7 separate regions of the Homo sapiens genome follow, and all the other regions are linked to region 6. The links are contacts of gene promoters, found by promoter capture Hi-C in blood cells and fetal thymus (Javierre and others, 2016). All regions are on one chromosome and are shown on one strand. The core of a region is centred on a gene start or on the middle of the fragment in contact, and the rest is flanking DNA. Distances in the headings are between cores, read along the strand shown. Region 1 overlaps GHR (growth hormone receptor). Region 2 has its middle 73 kb from the start of SELENOP. Region 3 overlaps GHR (growth hormone receptor). Region 4 holds the start of LOC124900970 (a long non-coding RNA gene). Region 5 overlaps CCDC152 (coiled-coil domain containing 152). Region 6 holds the start of RIMOC1 (RAB7A interacting MON1-CCZ1 complex subunit 1). Region 7 overlaps CCDC152 (coiled-coil domain containing 152).

The links. The method cuts DNA at HindIII sites, captures the fragments that hold promoters and counts their contacts. A CHiCAGO score of 5 or more calls a contact.
Region 1: a contact is called between a fragment that was not itself captured here and the fragment with the promoter of RIMOC1 in region 6, in 1 of 17 cell types (naive B cells). The highest score is 5.8, in naive B cells.
Region 2: a fragment that was not itself captured here is called in contact with the fragment with the promoter of RIMOC1 in region 6 in 4 of 17 cell types (neutrophils, M1 macrophages, M0 macrophages and 1 more); the score reaches 8.0 in neutrophils.
Region 3: a fragment that was not itself captured here is called in contact with the fragment with the promoter of RIMOC1 in region 6 in 1 of 17 cell types (naive B cells); the score reaches 6.8 in naive B cells.
Region 4: a contact is called between a fragment that was not itself captured here and the fragment with the promoter of RIMOC1 in region 6, in 1 of 17 cell types (M1 macrophages). The highest score is 5.8, in M1 macrophages.
Region 5: a contact is called between a fragment that was not itself captured here and the fragment with the promoter of RIMOC1 in region 6, in 3 of 17 cell types (M1 macrophages, M0 macrophages and monocytes). The highest score is 8.0, in M1 macrophages.
Region 7: a fragment that was not itself captured here is called in contact with the fragment with the promoter of RIMOC1 in region 6 in 1 of 17 cell types (M0 macrophages); the score reaches 5.3 in M0 macrophages.

What each region holds. Positions count from the first base shown.
Region 1 is chr5:42,657,414-42,660,777 of GRCh38, reverse strand. The region is part of intron 3 of GHR (growth hormone receptor); the gene reads right to left. Among named protein-coding and RNA genes, the nearest start is that of CCDC152, 98 kb to the left of the region's middle. The HindIII fragment of the contact is 4,825 bases long and covers 1-3,364 here.
Region 2 is chr5:42,883,379-42,886,560 of GRCh38, reverse strand. No RefSeq gene overlaps it. Among named protein-coding and RNA genes, the nearest start is that of SELENOP, 73 kb to the right of the region's middle. The HindIII fragment of the contact is 4,310 bases long and covers 1-3,182 here.
Region 3 is chr5:42,635,547-42,638,557 of GRCh38, reverse strand. All of the region lies in intron 3 of GHR (growth hormone receptor), which reads right to left. Among named protein-coding and RNA genes, the nearest start is that of CCDC152, 120 kb to the left of the region's middle. The HindIII fragment of the contact is 5,633 bases long and covers 1-3,011 here.
Region 4 is chr5:42,834,679-42,837,604 of GRCh38, reverse strand. LOC124900970 (a long non-coding RNA gene) reads right to left here and starts at 30. Exons shown (of 2, transcript XR_007058751.1): 1 at 1-30. The HindIII fragment of the contact is 5,346 bases long and covers 1-2,926 here.
Region 5 is chr5:42,777,899-42,781,266 of GRCh38, reverse strand. CCDC152 (coiled-coil domain containing 152) reads right to left here. Exons shown (of 9, transcript NM_001134848.2): 5 at 1,745-1,809. Among named protein-coding and RNA genes, the nearest start is that of CCDC152, 23 kb to the right of the region's middle. The HindIII fragment of the contact is 5,271 bases long and covers 1-3,368 here.
Region 6 is chr5:41,902,253-41,905,647 of GRCh38, reverse strand. RIMOC1 (RAB7A interacting MON1-CCZ1 complex subunit 1) reads right to left here and starts at 1,304. Exons shown (of 6, transcript NM_175921.6): 1 at 1,181-1,304. The coding sequence starts at 1,280. RefSeq lists enhancers at 1,202-1,321, 1,074-1,620, 1,732-1,871. The HindIII fragment of the contact is 10,560 bases long and covers 1-3,395 here.
Region 7 is chr5:42,801,496-42,804,687 of GRCh38, reverse strand. CCDC152 (coiled-coil domain containing 152) reads right to left here. Exons shown (of 9, transcript NM_001134848.2): 9 at 2,249-3,192. SELENOP (selenoprotein P) reads left to right here. Exons shown (of 5, transcript NM_005410.4): 4 at 1-32. Among named protein-coding and RNA genes, the nearest start is that of SELENOP, 8.8 kb to the left of the region's middle. RefSeq lists enhancers at 1-455, 456-956. The HindIII fragment of the contact is 1,850 bases long and covers 720-2,569 here.

The DNA of each region.
Region 1 (3,364 bases), core at 437-2,936, 750 kb before region 6:
GCTCGTCAAAGTCATTCTCCGTCCAGCTTTGTTCCGTTGCTGGTGAGGAACTGCGTTCCTTTGGAGGAGGAGAGGTGCTCTGCTTTTCAGAGTTTCCAGTTTTTCTGCTCTGTTTTTTCCCCATCTTTGTGGTTTTATCTACTTTTGGTCTTTGATGATGGTGATGTACAGATGGGTTTTTGGTGTGGATGTCCTTTCTGTTTGTTAGTTTTCCTTCTAACAGACAGGACCCTCAGCTGCAGGTCTGTTGGAGTTTGCTAGAGGTCCACTCCAGACCCTGTTTTCCTGGGTACCAGCAGCGGTGGCTGCAGAACAGCGGATTTTCATGAACCTTGAATGCTGCTGCCTGATCGTTCCTCTGGAAGTTTTGTCTCAGAGGAGTACCTGGCCGTGTGAGGTGTCAGTCTGCCCCTACTGAGGGGTGTCTCCCAGTTAGGCTGCTCAGGGGTCAGGGGTCAGGGACCCACTTGAGGAGGCAGTCTGCCTGTTCTCAGATCTCCAGCTGCATGCTGGGAGAACCACTGCTCTCTTCAAAGCTGTCAGACAGGGACATTTAAGTCTGCAGAGGTTACTGCTGTCTTTTTGTTTGTCTGTACCCTGCCCCCAGAGGTGGAGTCTACAGAGGCAGGCAGGCCTCCTTGAGCTGTTGTGGGCTCCACCCAGTTCGAGATTCCCGCCTGCTTTGTTTACCTAAGCAAACCTGGGCAATGCCTGGCGCCCCTCCCCCAGCCTTGCTGCCACCTTGCAGTTTGATCTCAGACTGCTGTGCTAGCAATCAGCGAGACTCCGTGGGCGTAGGACCCTCCGAGCCAGGTGCGGGATATAATCTCCTGGTGCGCCGTTTTTTAAGCCCGTCAGAAAAGCGCAGTATTAGGGTGGGAGTGACCCGATTTTCCAGGTGCCATCTGTCACCCCTTTCTTTGACTCGGAAAGGGAACTCCCTGTCCCCTTGCGCTTCCTGAGTGAGGCAATGCCTCACCCTGCTTCGGCTCCTGCAAAGTGTGCTGCACCCACTGTCCCGGGCCCACTGTCTGGCACTCCCTAGTGAGATGAATGCAGTAGCTCAGATGGAAATGCAGAAATCACCCGTCTTCTGTGTCGCTCACGCTGGGAGCTGTAGACCGGAGCTGTTCCTATTTGGCCATCGAAGAGAACTTTTTTAAACCTCTTTTTCCTTACAAATTACCCAGTCTCAGGTATGTCCTTTTGGCCGTGTGAGGATGGAGTAATACACATGGCATAGTGCTAACATCCATTTTGATGAATCCTTTCCCTTTGGTCTACCTTCCTGAGAAGCTCAGAGTTTTCATCGAGTTCATAGATACTCAAGGGCCCCTCAGTGGGAAACTTGACCTAATCTTCTTGTGCAGAGTTTCTAATATTTGAAAACTTTCCTACCTTATTTCCTTTAAAACACACCCATCCTGCTTTCTAATCTCAGAGCCTTGGTAGGTAGGGGTAGTATGCAGCAGCAGAAAGAACACAGTCTTTGAAGCTAGCTGGATTTCAGTTTGAATCCCAGCTGTGCAACTTGCTAGTAATGTTACATAAGTTCTCTAAGCTCCAGTTTTCCCCTGTGTAAAATGAGAGCAAAATACCTGCTTATACAGTTGCTGAAAAATAAATCAGATTATTATAGAGTACTTGGCACTTGGTTAGTCTTCAATAAACAACCACCACCATTATTACACTACTCTAGTGGGTTAATAGATCCCCAAGCCTTCATTTGTTGACCTCCAAGAAAATGTCTGAAACTTAGAAAGCCTTATATATTGCAATGCCTTAGCCTAAAAATATGCCTCAAAATTAGAATCTAAAGCACAGATTAGACAACTCTCTTCATAACCTACCAAAATGGAAGCTACTTTTAATCCACATCCACTCTTAAATATAAAACAAATTTAGGTCAGAAGTAATGGACTCCCTAGGCTTTATGGTAGGGTTTCTCAACTTCCACACTATTGGTATTTTGGATCAGATCATTTGTTGCTGTGGAATGCTGTCCTGTGCATTAGAGAATGCTTATCATCATTCCTACTCTCTACCTACTAGATGCCAGTAGCACCCCCTCTTTTCCAGTGTGACAAGTAAAATGTCTCTAGACATTGCCAAATGTCCCCTGGGGGGAAAAAAATCACCCTTGATGAGAACCACTATGGTATGAGAATTATAATTCACTTTATAAAGCTCAATTGCAGATGCTCTGATTACATTTGCATTGGATAATTCTTACTGTATATAAGCAAAAATAACAATGGATAAAAGTTCTTTTTAACCATGATTGATTGAGCTCCTACTTTGTGCTAAGTTTTTGCCATTTGCTTTCTCATTCCATCTTCACAACTCTTCTGTGGAGTATGCTGTATATATTATTATAACCCTCATTTTACAGAGAAGGAAACTTAACTTCAGGAAAGTTAGATAATTTTTAGCCAAAACACAAAGGTAATAAGTAGCAAAGCTGGGATGTGAATCCAGATTTTTCCCACTTCAAAGTTTTCTTCCCATAGGTAGCACTGCCCACTGCCTCTTTCAGTTTTATTTGGATTTTCTTTTTATGGTAAGGTTGCTTTTTTTTGGCATTAGGTTCAGAAACTTATCGGTTTCTATGAGCTGTTAGATAGCTAGTAATAATTAAGAGTCCTGTACTTGATTTGAGATAGTTTTGTACTTCCTCTTTTACCCTAATTTATATGAACAAACAGAAAAGCATCTTTATTATCAGAAATATCTGAATTCCCTAAGCAATAATGCCACATCCCCTCATAAAAAATGAGAAACTAAAGACAAGTCCTGATTCTGAAAAGTTTTCAGCCTGGTTGGGAAAATAAGACTTATACCTATGAAATAAGCTGAAAATAAAACATTTTAGGACCACCTACTCAGAAGAATACCCAGCTACTATTAGGTGGGAGGATCACTTGAGCTCAGGAGTTTGAGGCCAGCCTGGCCAACAAGCAAGACTCCACTATAAAAGCAAGAAAAAGGAACATTTTAGGATATACTGGAGTAGCTATATAAAACTTCATAAGGAAAGGGAAACACCAGTATGTTACTGTAGACTTATAGTACTTCATAGAGAAGTTACAGTAGGAAATAGAGTGACAAAAAAGGGATAGAGATTAGGAAGTTGATTATAACAGGTATTATACTTCTAAATTCCCATTATGAGTGAAGAGAAGAGGTCAGGTGCATATTGGCAAGTATCTACTTATCCACTAGTGGACAATATCCCATTGGACAACTCTCAAGAATAAAAGGAATAAAATCATGGTCCACATTTTCCTCTCTCTCTTTCTAGCCAGGATCTCTGCTTACTTCTAACCATCACCAAAGGATAGATGGCCACTTAGAAGAACTAGAG
Region 2 (3,182 bases), core at 661-3,160, 980 kb before region 6:
CATACTAAGTGCTTGGCTTAGTTCTAGATGTTGGGCATATAGAATTTAACAATGAACAATTTCCTTGTTTTCATGTAGGAGAGAGGAGAAAGAACAATAAACAAATACATATGTAATATACTGTTAGGAAAAGTACGAAGAAATGTAACATGTTAATAGGCTGGAGAGTAAGGAGATGGAGAGGGTGGTTATTTAAGATGAAGCAGTCAGGGAGGTCTCTCTGGGAAGGTGACAAGAGAGTGGACATTGGAAAGATGGGAGAGTGTGAGCCATATGAATGTCTAGGGAGAAGGGCATTCTGGACAGAGTGACAATCCAGCACAGAATGAGCTTGATCTGCTGTAGGAAAAGGAAGAAGGTCAATTTGGTCAAACTGGCAGAAGTGAGCCAGAAAATAAAAAGAGGTGAAACTGGAGAAATAGGCAAAAGCCAGTTATTTTAGACCTTATAGGACATGGTAAGGAGTTTGGGTTTCATTCAAAGTATTATGGGAAGCCTATTATGGTGGCTCACTCTTGTAAACACAAAACTTTGGGAGGTCAAGGCAGGAGTATTGCTTGGACCTAGGAGTTGGAGGACAGCCTCGGCAATGTAGTGAGACTCCCATGTCTACGAAAAATAAAAAATTAGCCTGGCTTGACGTTGCACACTTGTAGTCCCAGCTACTCAGGTTGCTGAGGCAGGAGGACTGCTTGAGCCAGGAGGTCGAGGCTGCAGTAAGCTGTGATTATGCTACTGTACTCCATCCTGTGTGACAGAGCAAGACCCTATCTCAAAAAACAAAACAAAAACAACAACCAAAATCCAAAGTGTTATGTAGGACTTTGAGGCAGGGGTGAGGCATTATCTGATTTATGTTTTAGGCAGATCATTCTAGTTGCTATCTGGAGACCTGACCACTTAAGAGTATAAAAGGAATCAGGGAGTCCAGGTGCAAGCCTACCGCAGGGATTTAGGTGAACAAAGATGGTTTCTTTGGTATAGATAGCAGCAGTGAAAGTGGTAAACAGTGGTGAAGTTTGAAATAAATTTTGAAGGTGGAATAAATGGAAGTTTCTGATGAGTTGGAGGTGTGGTGTAAAGAAAAGAGTAAAAATATCTCCTATGCCTTGAGTCTGAAAAACTAGGTGAATATTGGGGCCATTTATTGAAACAAGGAAGTGTGGAGAGGCTGACTAGGGTTCACCAAGCATAGATGTCAAGTAGGCAGCTGGAGATTTAAGCCAATGTAAAGATGTAGGTTTGAGATTCAATATCTAAATGTATTTAAAGCCATGGAACTGAGTGAGACCACTCAAGGAGAGGGGAGTAGATAGACAAGAGTGTTGAAGACTGAGGTAAAATGTTGGAAGAAGTAAAGGAGTCATCAATAGAGGCAGAATGGAGATGTCCAGTGAGATCTGAAGAATTTTCAAGGGGAAGGAGGTGATAACCTGCTACAATGATGGTTACAGGTAAATTAAGATGGAGATCACTGGTGTCTGGAGAAGGCCAAGTTCAGGGGAGTGAGAGGGGTGAACACTCAATCAGTGTGTGCTGAAACCACAATGAGAGCCAAGGAAGTGAAGACAGTAAGAACAGACAACTCTATTTAGAGGTTTTTCTCTAAAGGGTTGCTGAGGAACAAAGCAGTAGTTGGAGGTGAATTAAGGGAGTCTAAGGAGGGATCTTTACTTGCTTATGAGAGATATTACAGAAATATTATATGGTTCCCTTCAGAGAGCTGAGTTTTAAGGGCAAAGATACAGAACTTGGAGGGCAGAGTTTGCTCTCTGCTCCCTGCAGAAACACTCCAAGAGACTTTTGCCTGAGAACTTAGCTTGCATAGAAGGAATGGAGTCCAGCAGCTGGGGTCAGCATAGCCAACATTATTGGGCATTTTGGGATGATCTTCAGATCTGCATTTTGTCCTGAAGTTTCACAGTGAAGTTCTAATTGGGTAGCCCAATCATGTAGCCTTTGTAACCCCACATGTGCTATTTTCCCCTGGTAACTGGTGAAAGTGAATGTAAATAGTGGATTAGTGTGGTTTGAGGTCTATGGAGTGTAATAGGCCAGTGTGGTTGTGTTCTAGGTGAGAGTGCAAGATCAAAGGGCAAATCCATGTGCCCCCTTCTCAAGATGGGGATAACAAGGGAGAACGTATTGATGCTAGTCTGTCTTTTTTTGTCTGCTGTTACCTTTTCTTCCTTGTTTTTGAGAAGTTCTCAGGCTCTCTTCAACACCATCCCACCAGGAAAGTAAGTTAACATGAACTGACCTATCCTGATGTAAACAAAAAGAGTGAAACTCTGAAATATTTGAGATTTATTTTGATTCAAACATGAGTGATCAGTGGCCTGCGACACAGCCCTCAGGAGATACTGAGGACATGTGCCCAAGGTGGTCAAAGCACAGCCTAGTTGTATACATTTTGGGAAACATGAGACATCAATTAACCACATTTAAGATGTAAATTAGTTTGGTCCAGAAAGGCAGGACAATTTGAAGCAGGGGACCGTGAGGGGGAGAGGGGTTTCAGGTTATAGGTAGATTTAAAATTTTTCTGATTGGCAATTGATTGAAATAGTTATTATCAATAAAAAGAAATGTCTGGGTTATGATAAAGTGTTGTGGAGACCAAAGTTTTATCTTGCAGATGAAGCCTCCAGGTAGCAGGCTTCAGAGATAACAGATTATAAACGTTTCTCATCACACTTAAGATCTGTGTTGATATTAAACGCTGGCTGGGTTTTCCTGAATTCTAAAAGGGAAGAGGGTATAATGAGCCATGTCTGACCCCACTTCCCACCATGGCCTAAATCAGCTTTTCAGGTTAACTTTGGAGTGCCCTGGCCTAGAGGAGGGGCCCATTCAGATGGTTGGCGGTGGGGTGCGGTGGGGGCTTAGAGTTTTAATTTTGGTGTACAGGTTTTATACTTCTTCTCTTCTTTTCCCATTTTAAAAGAGGTGGCTGAAATTTACCTCATGAATAAAAACTGGGAAATTGTGACATCAAATATTATAAATGTAGGGAGAGGTGGAGTAGAAGTGTAGAGTTTTTTTAATGCTATCAAAGTCAAGTTATCAGCTTATCACCATTATAAGATTTTTTTGTAAGCCTCATGGTGCTCATGGTAACCACAAAGCAAAAACCTATAGTAAGTAAAAAAGGATTTTTTTAAAAAAGAAATCAAAACATA
Region 3 (3,011 bases), core at 247-2,746, 730 kb before region 6:
TCAGTACAGTAACATGCTGTATAGATTTGTAGCCTAGGAACAATAGACTATATCATAAAGGCTGGTGTGCAGCAGACTGTACCATCCAGGTTTGTGTGAGTACACTTCATGTTTACACAATGATGAAATTACCTAATTATGCATTTCTTAGAACCTATCCCCACTGTTAAGTGATGCATGACTGTAATTTATTTCAGAAGAGTTTACTATGAAGCAAATTTATAAAGTGAACACTGTATTGTCATTAATGCCAATTATGAAATTGAAGATAACAGGAGACTAAAAGAGGGTAACCAGTACAAACTTGATGATTAGTTCCTTAAAATACTATATTATACTGAGGGGGCAGTATAGTATTTGGGATGCTGAGGGGGGCAGATCACGAGGTCAGGAGTTCGAGACCAGCCTGACCAACACGGTGAAATCCCGTCTCTACTAAAAATAAAAAAAATTTGCCGGGCGTGGTGGTGCACGACTGTAATCCCAGCTACTCAGGAGGCTGAGGCAGGCAAATTGCTTGAACCTGGGAGGCGGAGAGTGCAGTGAGCCGAAATCGCACCACTGCACTCCAGCCCAGGCGACAAAGCGAGACTCCGTCTCAAACAAACAAACAAACAAACAACCATATTATAGCTGCTGGTGGGAATGTAAATTAGTTCAGCCACTGTGGAAAACAGTGTGGAGATTTCTCAAGGAAATTAAAACAGAACTACCATTCAACCTAGCAATCCCATAACTGGGTAGATACCCAAAGAAAAATAAATCATTCTACAAAAAGGACACACGCACTCATATATTCATCACAGGACTATTCATAACAGCAAAAACATAAAATCAACCTAGATGCGCATTGATGGTGGACTGGATAAAGAAAATGTGGTACACGTATACCATGAAAAGCTATGCAGCCATAAAAAAGAACAAAATCATGTCCTTTGCAGCAACATGGATGTATGTGGAAGTCATCATCATAAGTGAATTAACGCAGGAACAGAAAACGAAATACCATATGTTCTTACTTATAAGCAGGAGCTAAACACTGGATAAACATGGGTATAAAGATGGCAACAGTAGACACAGGGGACTACTAGAGTGGTGAAGATTGGGAGCGGGGTGTGAGTTGAAAAACATCAAGTAATATGCTCAATACCTGGGTAAGGGGATTATTTGTACACCAAACCTCAGAGACATGCAATTGACCCATGTAACAAACCTGCACGTGTACCCCCTAAATCTAAAATAAGAGTTGAAAAAAAAGAATTAATTGCTTTGCTGTTTAGAATGGTTTGGCATACTTTTTTTTAGAGGGCCAGAGAGTAAATATTTTAGGTTTGTGGACCTATGCTCTGTGTCTTAGCTACTCCACTCTGCCACTGTAGCCCTAAAGTAAACACAATCTGAAACAAACAGGCATGGGTGTGGTCCAATAAAACTTTATTTACAAAAACAAGCATCTGGTCTGAGGGCCTGTTTGCCAACCCTTGGTTTAAATATTTGTTGACCTAAAGAAAAAAAACACAGAGGTAGCTTACCTTGTACCAGATATTGTGAATTATATGCAAATAAATTTCCTATAAATCATACTATATTTTCAAAAGTCCTTTGAAAGTTGTGTAACATTTTTTCCTAAGTAATAAGTTCTTTGTTTAGCAAATGATCACCTCTTGTTATTTTTGGCTTAAATATATATTACCTTATATTGCATGTATTTGCCATGAGACACACAATTACTTGAACTACTATTTAATGGTAACTACATTTGAACGCTTTGTCAAAGCCATAAATCTTTTTGTAAATGTCTGCTTTCTCAGTGTGTAGGTTAAGTTGTATTAAAGTCTGGTTACACCTAAATAATAAATTCAAGATATTTTCCCAGTGCATAAATGTACATTATTTAAAAAAACTGTTCCCCACTAGGAGGAGCCAGTGTGAACAAAGGGCTTTTCTGGACTTCAGGTATCCTTTCCTGGTGAGAGACTCATGTGTGCAGAAGCTAGGGCTCTCTCGGGAGCAGTGATTAGAGTTGGTTTTGAAGCTGTGGAATTAAGCAGCAAATCAGTGGGCTACAAGCTAGAAGAACTCAAAGGTCACAACCAAAAAGGTCACAACCAACTGTTGGATGCTTTAACTTTCAAGAGTTACTAAAAAGTGTTCACCACCCATTGGGGTCACCCAGGGTGAAAGAATGTTTGTCTTGAATTATCCCTTTAAAAAATGTGTGTTATGCTTTGGCAAAGAAACCATGCTAGAAGTCAGTATATAGAGTGTACATAGGCATACTGAAAATTTAAGTAAGATGCTTAATCATCCTTCTTAGGCTCTAATTTTTTTTTTTTTTTTTTTTTTTTGAAACGGGGTCTCGCTCTGTCGCCCAGGCTGGAGTCCAGTGGTGAGATCTCGGCTCACTGCAAGCTCCGCCTCCCGGGTTCACGCCATTCTCCTGCCTCAGCCTCCCAAGTAGCTGGGACTACAGGCGCCCGCCACCACGCCCGGCTAATTTTTTGTATTTTTAGTAGAGACGGGATTTCACTGTGTTAGCCATGATGGTCTCCATCTCCTGACCTCGTGATCCGCCCACCTCGGCCTCCCAAAGTGCTGGGATTACAGGCATGAGCCACCGCGTCTGGCCTAAAATTTTTTTTACTCACTTCTAAGATTAAGGCTTTTAGAGACCTATGCCCACAAACAGATTTCTAACTATTTTCTTATTGTTTGAGTTCCAAAAGAAATAGAAGACCTCAGTATATGTTTACAACCAGAAGGGACCTGCATTCCAAAGGTTTCATTAATAGTGCCTAAGTCAATGCACAGAGAGAAACAGGTCTCTTGTAAACTAAGTGGTAAATATCTACTTACCACTTATCATTGCTCAGAAAATTGCTTGAAGTTGAAGGGGGATAAAAAAGTTAAGACCAAATATTTCTTTCAAAAAATTCTTACCTCTCAACGATTTTGTGTGAAAACAAAGCAGTATATAATAAAGCACTAACGTGTGAAACTAATGGCAGTCA
Region 4 (2,926 bases), core at 326-2,825, 930 kb before region 6:
AATGAAGCCACGGACCCTCTCGGTGAGTGTTACAGTTCTTAAAGATGGTGTGTCCAGAGTTTGTTCCTTCTGATGTTTGGATGTGTGTTTGGAGTTTCTTTCTTCTGGTGGGTTCTTGATCTCACTGGCTTCAAGAGTGAAGCTGCACACCTTAGCGGTGTGTTACAGCTCTTAAAGTGGCACATCTGGAGTTGTTCATTCCTCCCATCTGAAGTTTGTTCATCCCAGCCAGAGTTGTTCATTCCTCCTGGTGGGTTCATGGTCTCACTGGCCTCAGGAGTGAAGCTGCAGACCTTCGTGGTGAGTTTTACAGCTCATAAAGGCAGTGTGGACCCAAAGAGTGGGCAGCAGCAAGATTTATTGCAAACAGCAAAAGAACAAAGCTACCACAGTGTGGAAGGGGACCCCAGTGGGTTGCCGCTGTTGGCTTGGGCAGCCTGCTTTTATTCCCTTATCTGACCCCACCCACATCCTGCTGATTGGTCCATTTTACAGAGAGCTGACTGGTCCGTTTTACAGAGAGCTGATTGGTCCCTTTTGACAGGGTGCTGATTGGTGCGTTTACAAACCTTGAGCTAGACACAGAGTGCTGATTGGCGCATTTACAATCCTTTAGCTAGACACAAAAGTTCTCCAAGTCCCCACTAGATTAGCTAGACACAGAGCACTGATTAGTGTGTTTACAAATCTTTAGCTAGACACATAGTGCTGATTGGTTCATTTACAATCCTCTAGCTAGCCATAAAAGTTCTCCCAGTCTCCACCCCACTCAGGAGCCCAGCTGGCTTTGCCTAGGAGATCCTGTGCCAGGGCCGCAGGCAGAGCTGCCTGCCAGTACTGCGCTGTGCACCCGCACTCCTCATCTCTTGGGTGGTCGATGGGACTGGGTGCCGTGGAGCAGGGGGCAGCGCCCAAGGGGGAGGCTCGGGCCGCATGGGAGCCCACAGGGCTGGGGGGGTGCTTGGGCATGGTGGGCTGCAGGTCCCGAGCCCTGCCCCAATGAGAGGTGGCTGAGGCCTGGCAAGAATTCGAGCATGGCGCCAGCAGGCCGGCACTGCTGGGGAACCCGGCGCACCCTCTGCAGCTGCTGACCCAGGTGCTAAGCCCCTCACTGCCCAGGGTGGCTGGCACCGGCCGGCCACTAGGAGTGCGGGGCCTGCTGAGCCCGCGCCCACCAGGAACTCGTGCTGGCCCGTGAGTGCCGCAGGCAGCCCTGGTTCCCGCCTGCGCCATCTCCCTCCACACCTCCCCACAAGCAGAGGGAGCCAGCTGTGGCCTCTGCCAGCCCAGAGAAGGGCTCCCATAGTGCAGTGGCAGACTGAAGGACTCCTCAAGCATGGCCAGAGTGGATGCCGAGGCTGAGGAGGTGCTGAGAGCGAGTGAGGGCTACTAGCATGTTGTCACCTCTCAAAGTGATTACACAAGGATATGGATATCAGGAGGAAGGAATCATTGGGTGTATTCTTAGAACCAGGCTTCCACAGTCCCACTTTCAATCTGCTTTTTTTTCTTGCTGCACTTAGTATTATTTTTTTTTCCCAGGAAGTCAGCTATAATCCCCTGGAACATGGTTCCTGGGGCCTCAACTCTGGGCTGGATATAAACCCAAAAGTTGATTGTGTAACTATTACTTTAATTTTAAAAGGTCTCAGAAAGATTCAAACCCTTGCTCCTGCTGCTCTTTTATTTTCATTCCGTTGATTGGGCTTCCTTTTTTTTTTTTAGAAAAACTTGTATTTTAGGTTCAGAGTACACATACAGGTTTGTTATATAGGTAAACTTGTGTCACAGAGGTTTGTTGTACAAATTATTTCATCACTCAGGTACTAAGCCTAGTACCCAATAGTTATTTTTTTTCTGATCCTCTTCCTCCCCCCACCCTCTGGTAGGCTCCAATGTCTGCTGTTCTTTTCTATATGTTTATGTGTTCTCTTCCACTTACAAGTGACAATATACAGTATTTTGTTTTCTTTTCCTGCATTAGTTTGCCAAGGATAATGGCCTCCAGCTCCATCCATGTTCCCGCAAAAGACAATCTTGTTCTTTTTTATGGCTACATAGTATTCCATGGTGTATATGTACTACATTCTCTTTATCCAATCTGTCATTGATGGGCATTTAGGTTGGTTTCATGTCTTTGCTATTGTGAATAGTGCTGCAATGAACATTCATGTGCATGTGTCTTTATGATAGAATGATTTATATTTCTGTGGGTATATACCTAGTAATAAAATGTCTGGGTCCAGTGACAGTTCTGTTTTTAGTTCTTTGAGGAATCACTATACGTCTTTCCACAGTAGTTGAATTAATTTATGCACCCACTGACAGTGTATAAGGGTTCCCTTCTCTTTGCAACCTTGCTGGCATCTGTTATTTTTTGACATTTTAATAATAGATATTCTGACTGGTGTGAAATGGTAACTCATTGTGGTTTTGATTTGTATTTCTCTAACGATCAATTGTAGGGAGACCCCCTGAAACTATTGCTATGGAGTAAAAGATGAAATGCTCCTGATTATTGTACGTACAAAATTGCATGCAGGATTGTGTAAAGACAATGCCAGGTTGGGCTGCCAGAATGAGCCAACAGCGCGTAATGTGCTTCCCCGTGCAGAGAGCCTATAAACGGACGTGCAGTCAGGGAGGTTTCACATAACCAGGATTCCTATCCCAGAAAAGCAGATGTTCATAGCTCTGGGAATGGAATGTGATTCTTGTGGAGAGCCTATAAGCAGATGCATGAGGGGCGCCTGTTCATATGGATAAGATAGGGCTATAAACGTCCTTATTTTGCCACAGCTCTTCTAGGCCTCTTTAAGGTTAAGGCATACTCCCTTCTGAGAATTTCTGGTCTAACTGGTTGTCTAGCTTCACATCCTGTTTCTATTGATTGTTTGCAACCAGCTTTTGCTGCAACTGTTACTGC
Region 5 (3,368 bases), core at 402-2,901, 880 kb before region 6:
ATTTTCTATATATCTAGATTTCTAGATGGGCAACTACAGAGCAGCTTTTATAAACTACTCCTGACAACTGTGTGCACTAAGCTGTTGCTGCTCTGAGAAACCACAAGAGACAAACCTATGTACCTTTCTATTCTCCACTGATTTTTGCCACAGGAAGATGTCACCAGGAAAGTGGAATGCTGCCAGTTAATTCGGTGAGACCCAGGATTTGCATTTCAGCCTCCAGGCATGAAGACTATTCTATCTGGGTTGAGCCAAGTTCTATCCCACTAGATCTTCTCTTCCACTTTAGCCTGTGCCATTCCTAAAAAATGTAATCTTTTCATTTTTCTAAGGAGACTAATCCCCAATAGGTTACAATTGGTTGTCTTCTTTTCATATGCTTTCTGGGAATTTTAAATTCCAAGGAATAGCCTCCAGTTTCACTCTTGATATAAAAAACAATGATTCTCTCTATACAAGTTGCAAAATCCTTCTACTCTCACAAATACTGCTATTGGGTACCTCCTGAGTTTGTTCCTGGGGAGTTTTCTCCATGAATTTTAGATGTGTTCAGAGGTTTTGAATTAGCAAATCTGCGTTGTCATAGTTTGCTTTGGGCAGCCCCTAAGTAAGAAATTCAGACTCTTGGGTTGTGGTGTTTTCTCTTTAATTTCTTCCCCTCTGAACATTCCTGTAGTATTCTCAACAAAGCAGTATCCTAGTGCTTGAAGTTTTAGAAAGGAAAGCAGGTCAAATTTTCTCCCCCTGGTTCCCCACCCCAATTACAACCTGACTTTACCATCTATTTTTGAGATCTAGAGTCAATATATTAAAAGGATTGGGAAAGAATAAAGGGAAAAAGGAAAAGAAAGGGGGAGAAAGGGTAGGATTCATTTCAGAAATACTTAAAAACCATCTCAAAATTGGTGATGAAAAGCTAAATTTTCTAAGAGCATAGCCAGAATGCTACTTATTACTGTACAGGATTAACCAGAAGTTCTGGGCAGATTTCTTCAGAGGGTCCTCAGATGAGGAACCAGACTGAATTTAGAGAAGATTCTTCAAGTTGAAAGCTCCTATAGATTCAACTTGAGTTTTGAGGATCTTTTGTCTGCTAGAATTTGACATATTAGCTCTTGAGAGATGAGGAAGTTAGCATAATGAACCTCTCAAAGAGCAGAGGGAACTGACATTTATTTAGCATCTTTTATGCTTTTTACACGCTGTTCATGTGTTCTACAACTGCTGTCACTACACTGTTCCTACAGGAGATAAGGAAAAGTAGCAGAGGGTATGGTGGCTCCTGGGAGAGAAATAATTTGTGATCCACATGAAATGCCCCCTGTATTGGAATGGTGTAATGATTACCCAAATCATAAAGAGTATAGATTCATTTACATTATAATAAGAAAGTTCACAAGTAGTAACAAATAGAGTTTACTAGAGTAAAACCTCTATTAACATAATTGAAAATTATGTAGCAAAATAACTGCATCTCTTTTTGGTAGAAAGAAAAAGTAATGCAAGTTATTTGTTAGTACATTATATTTTGTAAAAAAAAAAAACTCTTAAAACTAGTATTGCTTTGAAAACAAATTGTCATTTACTAAAGATTTTGGCATATATACGTATATCTCCACACACACACACACCCACAAACATTTGGCTGTGTTTATTAATTTAAAAACCTCTTTTTTTTTCCTAATTTGAAAAGATAAATCTCCACAGGGACTTGACTGAATAGAATGATACATAAACTCACCTGTTCATGAGACTTTAACTTCTCTTTTATAAGATCAGCACTTATTTTTAGTTGTTCATTTTCACCTGTGTAAGAATAATCAAAGAACATCATAATATATAGCACTTTTCAATTAATATGAAAATATGTTCAACATTTTAGCTTCCATTATGTATGCATTCAACAAACATGCATCCAGCAGCTGCTACACTTCAGGCACCATGCTAGACACTGAGAATATGAAAGTGAAAAGAGTTACTGCTCTTCAAAGAACTTACAGCCTAGTGCTGAGTCAAATGTGTTAGTAGTTATAATATGCTATGATAATTGCTCTTTAATGGCAGTATATCTGAAATACTACAGGAACCTGTAAAAAGAAAACCTAGGGCAGCTTGAAGTCAGGAAAGGATTTAGAGAAGAGAAGCTACTTGAGACGAGATTTAAGTGATAGGCTTACCCCATGTTAAGAGAGAGCATTCTAAATGCAGAAAATCGCACAGAAGACCATGGGCTTGAGTGAATATAGCTTGGAAAAACTACAATTCACGTACGGTATTGTTGAAGTGTAAAGTGTGAGCAGGAGATGCTATATAGGTTGGGATCCTATCACTAGGTAGACATATTCTACATATTCTAGATGAACAATTTTGGATTTTGGTTTTAGAGGTTACAGGGAGTCATCAAAGAATTTTGAATAGTGCAGAAGTGAAATAATGAGAGTTACATGCTAAAACGATTATCTGGCAATGTGGATGATGAATGAGAGGGTTTTGACCCTAGAGGAATGGAGATCAGTAACTATAGGTCAAGTAAGAGATAACAGGAACCTAAATTACGTCAGCGGCAGTATGGAAAAAAGGAAGCAATGAGGAGAATTATTATTTAGATGATAGAATTACCTAGGAATTTAGTGACCCTTTAGATAGAGGAGGCAAAAGAGAAAGGGGGAGCCTTTTCTTTTTAGGTTTTTGGTTTGGGTAACTGAAAACAATACCTTAATATTTTTAACAAATTTTAAAAACCCTGTGGTTAATTTTGATTACTAAACATCCAGGTCGGTTTAAAACTGTAATTTCCTATTTGATTGAAAGTTTTCATGATCCTTATCACTGGCTAGATCAGTGGCTGTAAAGAGTCAATAGAAGTGGGAAAGAAGTCTTAGTTTCCTCCTTAGTTGCTCTTCCCTGTCTTTCCTCTGGGTCATCTCTTGGGGGGTGGAGACAGGAAATGAGGAGAGGTAAAAAATTCTCTATTTAACTTCGAGGTTCCAGTCCTTTAGGTGGTTGTAGCAAATATATGCAGTCTGGACTCACTCCAACATTTGGCGACTTTTTAGCAGATGTCACTAGAATATGGAAATATGTAGCTATTTTGTTGTTAATTGTGGCATGTGCCCTAGTCACTAATTCCTGGTAAACAGGAAAAGCCTCAATAGACATCCTATTACAATTTCCCCTCTACAACCTTAACTATAAACACAACCAAGAAGTAGTTAAACAAAACAACAAATCAGTAAAGATTTTTGACATTATCTGAATAATGCTTTTAGGAAGGTTTGTTTTGTGGTATAGTAAAGTTGAGAGGAGCCTTGGAAATAGAGTCCACTTATGAAACTATTGCAGAGGTATTAAACCACAGTATTAAA
Region 6 (3,395 bases), core at 55-2,554:
AATTATTCATGTGAATCCACAGACCAAAATATAAGTCGGCTTCAGGGTGGTCTGTAGGTCTTTAAAGAACACACTCCTGGCCTGGCACAGTGGCTCACGCCTGTAATCCCAGCACTTTGGGAAGCCAAAGCGGGTGGAATGCTTGAGCCCAGGAGTTCAGGACCAACCTGGATGACATGGTGAACCCCGTTTCTACAAAATATGCCAAAGTTAGCCGGGCGAGATGGTGTGCGCCTGTTGTCCCACTACTAGAGGGGCTCCAGCCTGAGCAACAGAATGATACTCTGCCTCTAAAAACAAAACAAAACAAAACACTCCTGATAAATGATAATCTGGCAAAAAATATTCACTGAAACTAAGGCATTTCATCATAGACCCTATTTAATAACAAATTCACCAACTATTCAATCGCTTAAGAAAATGTTCCACCACTGTTTTCCTATGAGTCCGATGATATGAGTCAGTCCACAGAATTTTAAAAACTATCTGTAGTAATTGCTCAAACTCAAAAAGGAATAATGTAGAACCTAAAGGCAGCTGAGACGTAATGAAAAGAATTGGACTTAAATTCAGAAGGTTGAGGCAATTCCCTAGCCCAGTTTTTCCTAACAGCTTAGACCTTTCCAAAACAAGTATGCCAATACTTAACAGAGCCCTTGTGAGAACTGGCATGATGTATGGGGCAGAATAGTCTACACACCAATGTAAAGCTCTTCTATAGAATGTTGTTTTGAATCCAAAACGTAAAACGCAAATTACAACGCAGCAATGAAAAAGTGGAACTGTTATACATGTCTTTTTATCTTTACAGGATGCAAACCACCATAACTAATTTGAGTGTTATCATTCATCTTAGCCATTTATTTAAACTTCTGTATTTTATTTAGATTCTGCCCTTCTTCCAATCGCTACCGAGACAGTTTACACCAGCACGGATCTAGACAGATTTTCCATGGGTTCTGAATAATGCGGTTTTCGAAGACAACGCCTTGGCATTGTGAGTTCTGGGAAGTGGGCAATCGATGGCGCAGAGGGGCTCAGAAGCGACAGACCTCGGGTAACCACCTGCGGCCTGGGACCCAAAGGAACACAGGCCTCAGCCTCTAGCCCTCACAGCCATCGAGCGCCAGTACCTTAGCGCCGTCTGCCCCGCCCGCCTCCCTCTCCTCCGCTCCCTCACCATCTTCACCGGCAGCTTCGCTAAGTTGCTGTATGTGGGCCTGAGCCAGATCCCCGAGCTCTTCCACTCGTCTCACCACACTAGAGACTGCGGCCGCCATGGCCACAATCGGCGGGTGCGCCCCGGTCACGTGACCGTGTTGGCCCGCAATCACCTGATCCCCCGGCACGGGCGGGGCCTAGGGCGGACCTCTCCTGGTTGGTGGGAGGAGACATCAGCTCCGGAAGAGGGCTGGCCCAGGCCGGCAAAGGTCTTTCCGGGTCATTTTTCCCTCCTGGACTTCCCTTCCCTCCCATAATCCTGAGCAGCAAGGAGACTAGGGGCGGGTGTGACGTTGAGACACGCCTCTCTCTAGCCCCCTCCTGTAAGCCAATAGGGAGCCAGCCGTGCCCCTCGGCTGACCCAATCGGAAGTCAGCTCTCTCCGCCTGCCTCTTGGAAGACAGCTTGGTGACGTCTGGCTGGCAGGATGCGGATTGTCGTCCGCACTCCCACTTCCCTGTCCGGCGCGGGAAGCACAGTCTGGAGGGCGGACGCGAGGGTCTGGAGAGAGGACTGTCAGTTTTGGCCTTGTAGTAAGGAGGTTGCTAAAATAAAGTGATTATAATCTCCTGGTCCTAAATGGAAACCCGACCGGCCCCCTGTGTAACACATCCAAGTCTCCAAGAGTTTGTTGTACATCTGGATGGGGAGCTCCAAACACTAGTGGAGTTGCCAGTCTACATGGTTGAATATTGCTTTTGTAAATCTGATTTTTAGCAGTCGAATTTATCTCTGACCTCCCTTGGAGTTCACATTTAAAGTACTTTAGACATCTTGCGTCCAGTGGTAGTAAATTCTGCGGCCACAAAACTATTTTCATTTTTCTTTCATCTCAAGACCTTCCCTTAAGGCGCTAATTGTGCATGAGGTTCATCCTCTCAATCGGGAGTTTCAAAGCACTCAGTCAGCAAGTCTAACTTCACTTTGCATTCTGTGAATGCTTTCTTGCCTCTGGTCAAACAAATCGTTAACTCTGTGTATTCATTTCTCAGTTTGACACACTATATCTTGAATAATCTCCATCCTATTGTTTCTCATGGAAGGTAGTTTTTTATATGTAATAGAAAAATACTAAAAATAGAGAAAAAGTGTATTGTGATTTATAAGTGATTGACCACAATGACTCTCTAACTGACCTTTGTAATACCAGTTTCTTCTGACAATTCACCCTAAATATAGAGGACAGGAATCATGTATTTTGTGTCCTTGGTGCCTCATACAGTGCCTGGCACATATGCACTCTTGTCAACAAGCAAGATGGCAAGGGGATATGATGTGGTCTGTGGGAGTAGACAATTATTCAATAGTGTGGGAATTGTAGGTGAGGAAAAAAAGAATCTAAGTATAAACAAGAAGTTGAGAGAAGGCTTTCTCAACAAGGGATGGAGAAGGTGGTAGTTGAAGAGGGGCAAGTGCTGGAAGGTAGGGTGGAGAATGATCGTATCTGTACACAAAGGGGGAAAAATAGGGAAATAGGGATAAATTCAAAATGAAAGTAGGGAGCCAGCAATGGATAGAGAAAAGAGCAGAAGGTTACACCTGATGCCTTCTGAATCTTCTACAAGATGTAGAACTAAATGAAGCCTTCAGAAGATTTTACTAAACTTTTCAAAAAATAATTTTCAAAAAATAATTAACCTTTGATTAGGAATTTTCAGTCTCCTAGAAAATGTGTAATTTACCATTCTTAAACTACTTAAAAGAATTACCTGGACATGTGGGCAACAGACAAAGGCACAGCTGAAATATTTTGACTGTGGATCTACAAATTATCTCTGCAGAAGTGTTTTACTCTCAGGTCCACTGTTCTTCTCAGGCTTTTATAAAAGACATCTTAGGATCTATGTAATCAGGTCATCCATTTTCTAGCCATGAGATTTGGGTCTGGGAGATCTTGCTCATGATTTCGAAGTGATCTTGGATCGCCATTTGAATCAAGGGTTCCTTTTTAAAATAAACATTTAGAGTCAAATATTCAAAAGGCCCTTTTATTACAACCACAGCTTTATCTGTTCCCTCTCCATAAATGTGGCTATTGAAAACATTTTAGGCCAGGTATAATGGCTCATGCCTGTAATCCCAGCACTTTGGGAGATGTAGGCAGGCAGATCACCTGAGGTCAGGGGTTCAAAACCAGCCTGGCCAACATAGTGAAACCCCTTCTCTACTAAAAA
Region 7 (3,192 bases), core at 395-2,894, 900 kb before region 6:
GTGAAAAGAAATGTGGAAACTGCTCTCTCACGGTATTTTTCTGAATTATTTTTCTGGGGAGAAAAGAGGAAATCTTTTAAGAGTTTATCATGAAACACTTATTTAGAAAACTCAATGCTTTTGCAGGTGTACTAAAAATAAATAACAATAATTTTTACAATTAAACAAACATCCTGTCATCTAACCTCTACTTTATTTATTTATTTATTACTATTACTATTATTTTTGAGACGGAGTCTGTCTCTGTCGCCGAGGCTGGAGTGCAGTGGCGCGATCTCGGCTCACTGCAAGCTCCGCCTCCCGGGTTCACGCCATTCTCCTGCCTCAGTCTCCCGAGTAGCTAGGACTACAGGCGTCCGCCACTACTCCCAGCTAATTTTTTGTATTTTTAGTAGAGACGGGGTTTCACTGTGTTAGCCAGGATGGTCTCGATCTCCAGCCCTTGTGATACGCCCGCCTCGGCCTCCCAAAGTGCTGGGATTACAGGCGTGAGCCACCGCGCCCGGCCTAACCTCTAGTTTAAAACATCTTTTGAAGATCGATGTTGCTGCCTTTATCTAGAAGAGCTTTAGAAATTAAAAATCAATGTATCGTATTTCAGTTACCACCAAATGACGTTGCATGGGCATAAGTGCTCAAAAAATTTAGTCAACACAAAAAAGCAATGTTATTGTAGTAACCTGAACATGTTAGCACAAGAACATAAAAATAGCAAAGCTTACCCACAGCATTACTTGGAATGGAACTGGGGCCAGAAACTACTTAATTTATTGAAGATGCAAGGCTATCAGATTTTTCCTGAAGCCCTTCCACTGCCTGCCCATCTGCAGTCTGAGTTTACTTCAAAATGGAGTAAGTTTTCTACTCATTACTGGTATTTATTTCCTAACAACCATGAAAATATTTCTTCTTTGTTATGAGAAGAACTATATTTAAATCTTTTTTAAATAAAAAAGGCACTCAAAGAATTTAATTTGTATTAACTAGACTTGTTTTCCTTCATAACAAAAAGGAAAATAATTCTAAACAATGTTCCATTGAGAAGTCAGATTGGGAAAATTTGAACTTAGGTTTAAAAACAATTCACAATTTTATCTGTAAGTTGTATTTCCTTCAGATTTTCCCCAGGTCTAAAGAAAGCCGCCTCAAATTTTTAACGAATTTAATTAATTAATTTAGTTGTTAAGGAGTATAAGTTACTTACTCTAGTTATGTAATTTTCACATTTTAATCTTTATAATGATCTTTTGAGGGTTATTTTACTATTTTTAAAGATGAGGAGACTGAGGTAATGGAAGAAAATACTAAGAGTAATGAAAGAAAAGTACTAACTCAACCTATACTAAGCATTTAATAAATACTAATTATAATGATTCCTCATATTTTGGGATTATTTCTGCATTTCTCATTTGTGCAAATGCTTGCTAGTTATAAATATACCCAGTTATATTGAAAAAGGCAGTTAATAGTTACCACAATATGCTTAAAATGTGTGAATCATCTGTAAATACAAATTACAGATCAGACACTATTAGTATCTGATATGCCAAATCCGATTGGAGTTTTTCTATTTCATTGTCTCCTAGATACCACTGATTATTTGACATATTATCTTATGTAGTATTTAGGAAAAAAAAATGCTGCTAATTAAAGTAGGATACAGTGAGAAACCACCACCAACAGTATGGTACATTCTAATTTTAGAGATATTAAAATCTAAAGAAATATGCATCACATAATCAGTAAAATATAGTAATTCGTTTCTGAAATTAGACTACTGGCAGGGTGCGGTGGCCCACGCCTGTAATCCCAGCACTTTGGGAGGCCGAGGTGGATGAATCACGAGGTCAATAGATCGAGACCATCCTGGCCAACATGGTGAAACCCCATCTCTACTAAAAATACAAAAATTAGCTGGGCGTGGTGGCACGTGTCTGCAATCCCAGCTGCTTGGGAGGCTGGGGCAGGAGAATCACTTGAACCTAGGAGGCGGAAGTTGCAGTGAGTCGAGGTCGTGCCACTGCACTCCAGCCTGGCGAAAGAGTGAGACTCCGTCACTAAATAAATAAATAAATGAAAGAAATTAGACTACTACCATAGGTATTTGTGTTTGTTTAAACCTTGAACACTTTGAACATTACACAGTATATTTTAAACATGTATCAAATTCTTTATAAGTTTGTAAGCAAACATTATTAGCTTCTAATGTAGAAGTAATTCAGAAATAACCAAATAAAGTACCACTTAGTAGTTGTATGCTAAAATTTAATGGAATTTATAACCTTTTAAAACCTTCAAAACATCAAAAGCATATCACTTAGTGAGTCTTTGGGTTCTAAGTTGATTTTGTAATTTTATTTGCAAATTAGCCTTAGGTTGAGATTTACTGTTACATTTCTGTATCTATAGGCTTTGAGTCTCTGATTAGTAGGTACCACAAAACAGTAAAGACTTCCAGTAAATTAAAGAACTAGGATCATGCGGAATGGATATTATGGTCAATGGGAGTCGGGCAGTAATTTGCTATTTTCAGCTGACAGCCTTATGGTAGGGAGACATTAGCAAAGCTTTGGTGAAGTTCAAAACATTTCCTGGCATAGGATGAAGTATGAAAAACTAACACATTTGAGCAGAGTTTATTAGCATTTTTGAATTATCAGAGATAATATTAGATTACAGTATCATATAGTATTAGATAAGATGCACCGTTGACACAGGTACAGAAGTTTCCATATAGTTCAACTGATTTTTTATTTATTTTTTATTTTTTTGAGATAGGGTCTGACTCTGTCACCCAGGCTGGAGTGCAGTGGCACCATCTGAGCTCACTGCAACCTCCATCTTGCAGGCTCAAACGATCCTCCCACCTCAGCCTCACAAGTAGCTGGGACTACAGGCATCTGACACCACACCCAGCTAATTTTTGTATATTTTGCAGAGACAGGATCTCGCCATGTTGCCCAGGCTGGTCTCCGACTCCTGAGCCCAAGTAATCTGCCCCCCTCGGCCACCCAAAGTGGTGGGATTACAGGCATGAGCCACCATGCTCGGCCCAGATCAACTGAATTTAGGATTTGATATTACTTTGACTTTCCTGCAATCCAAGTTCCTTTTGCCAGTTTACTTCATTTGCTTCTGCAAATATAAGTACAGTGGTTTGGCTTTCTTTTTAAGCCTTTAATAAAATGTCTA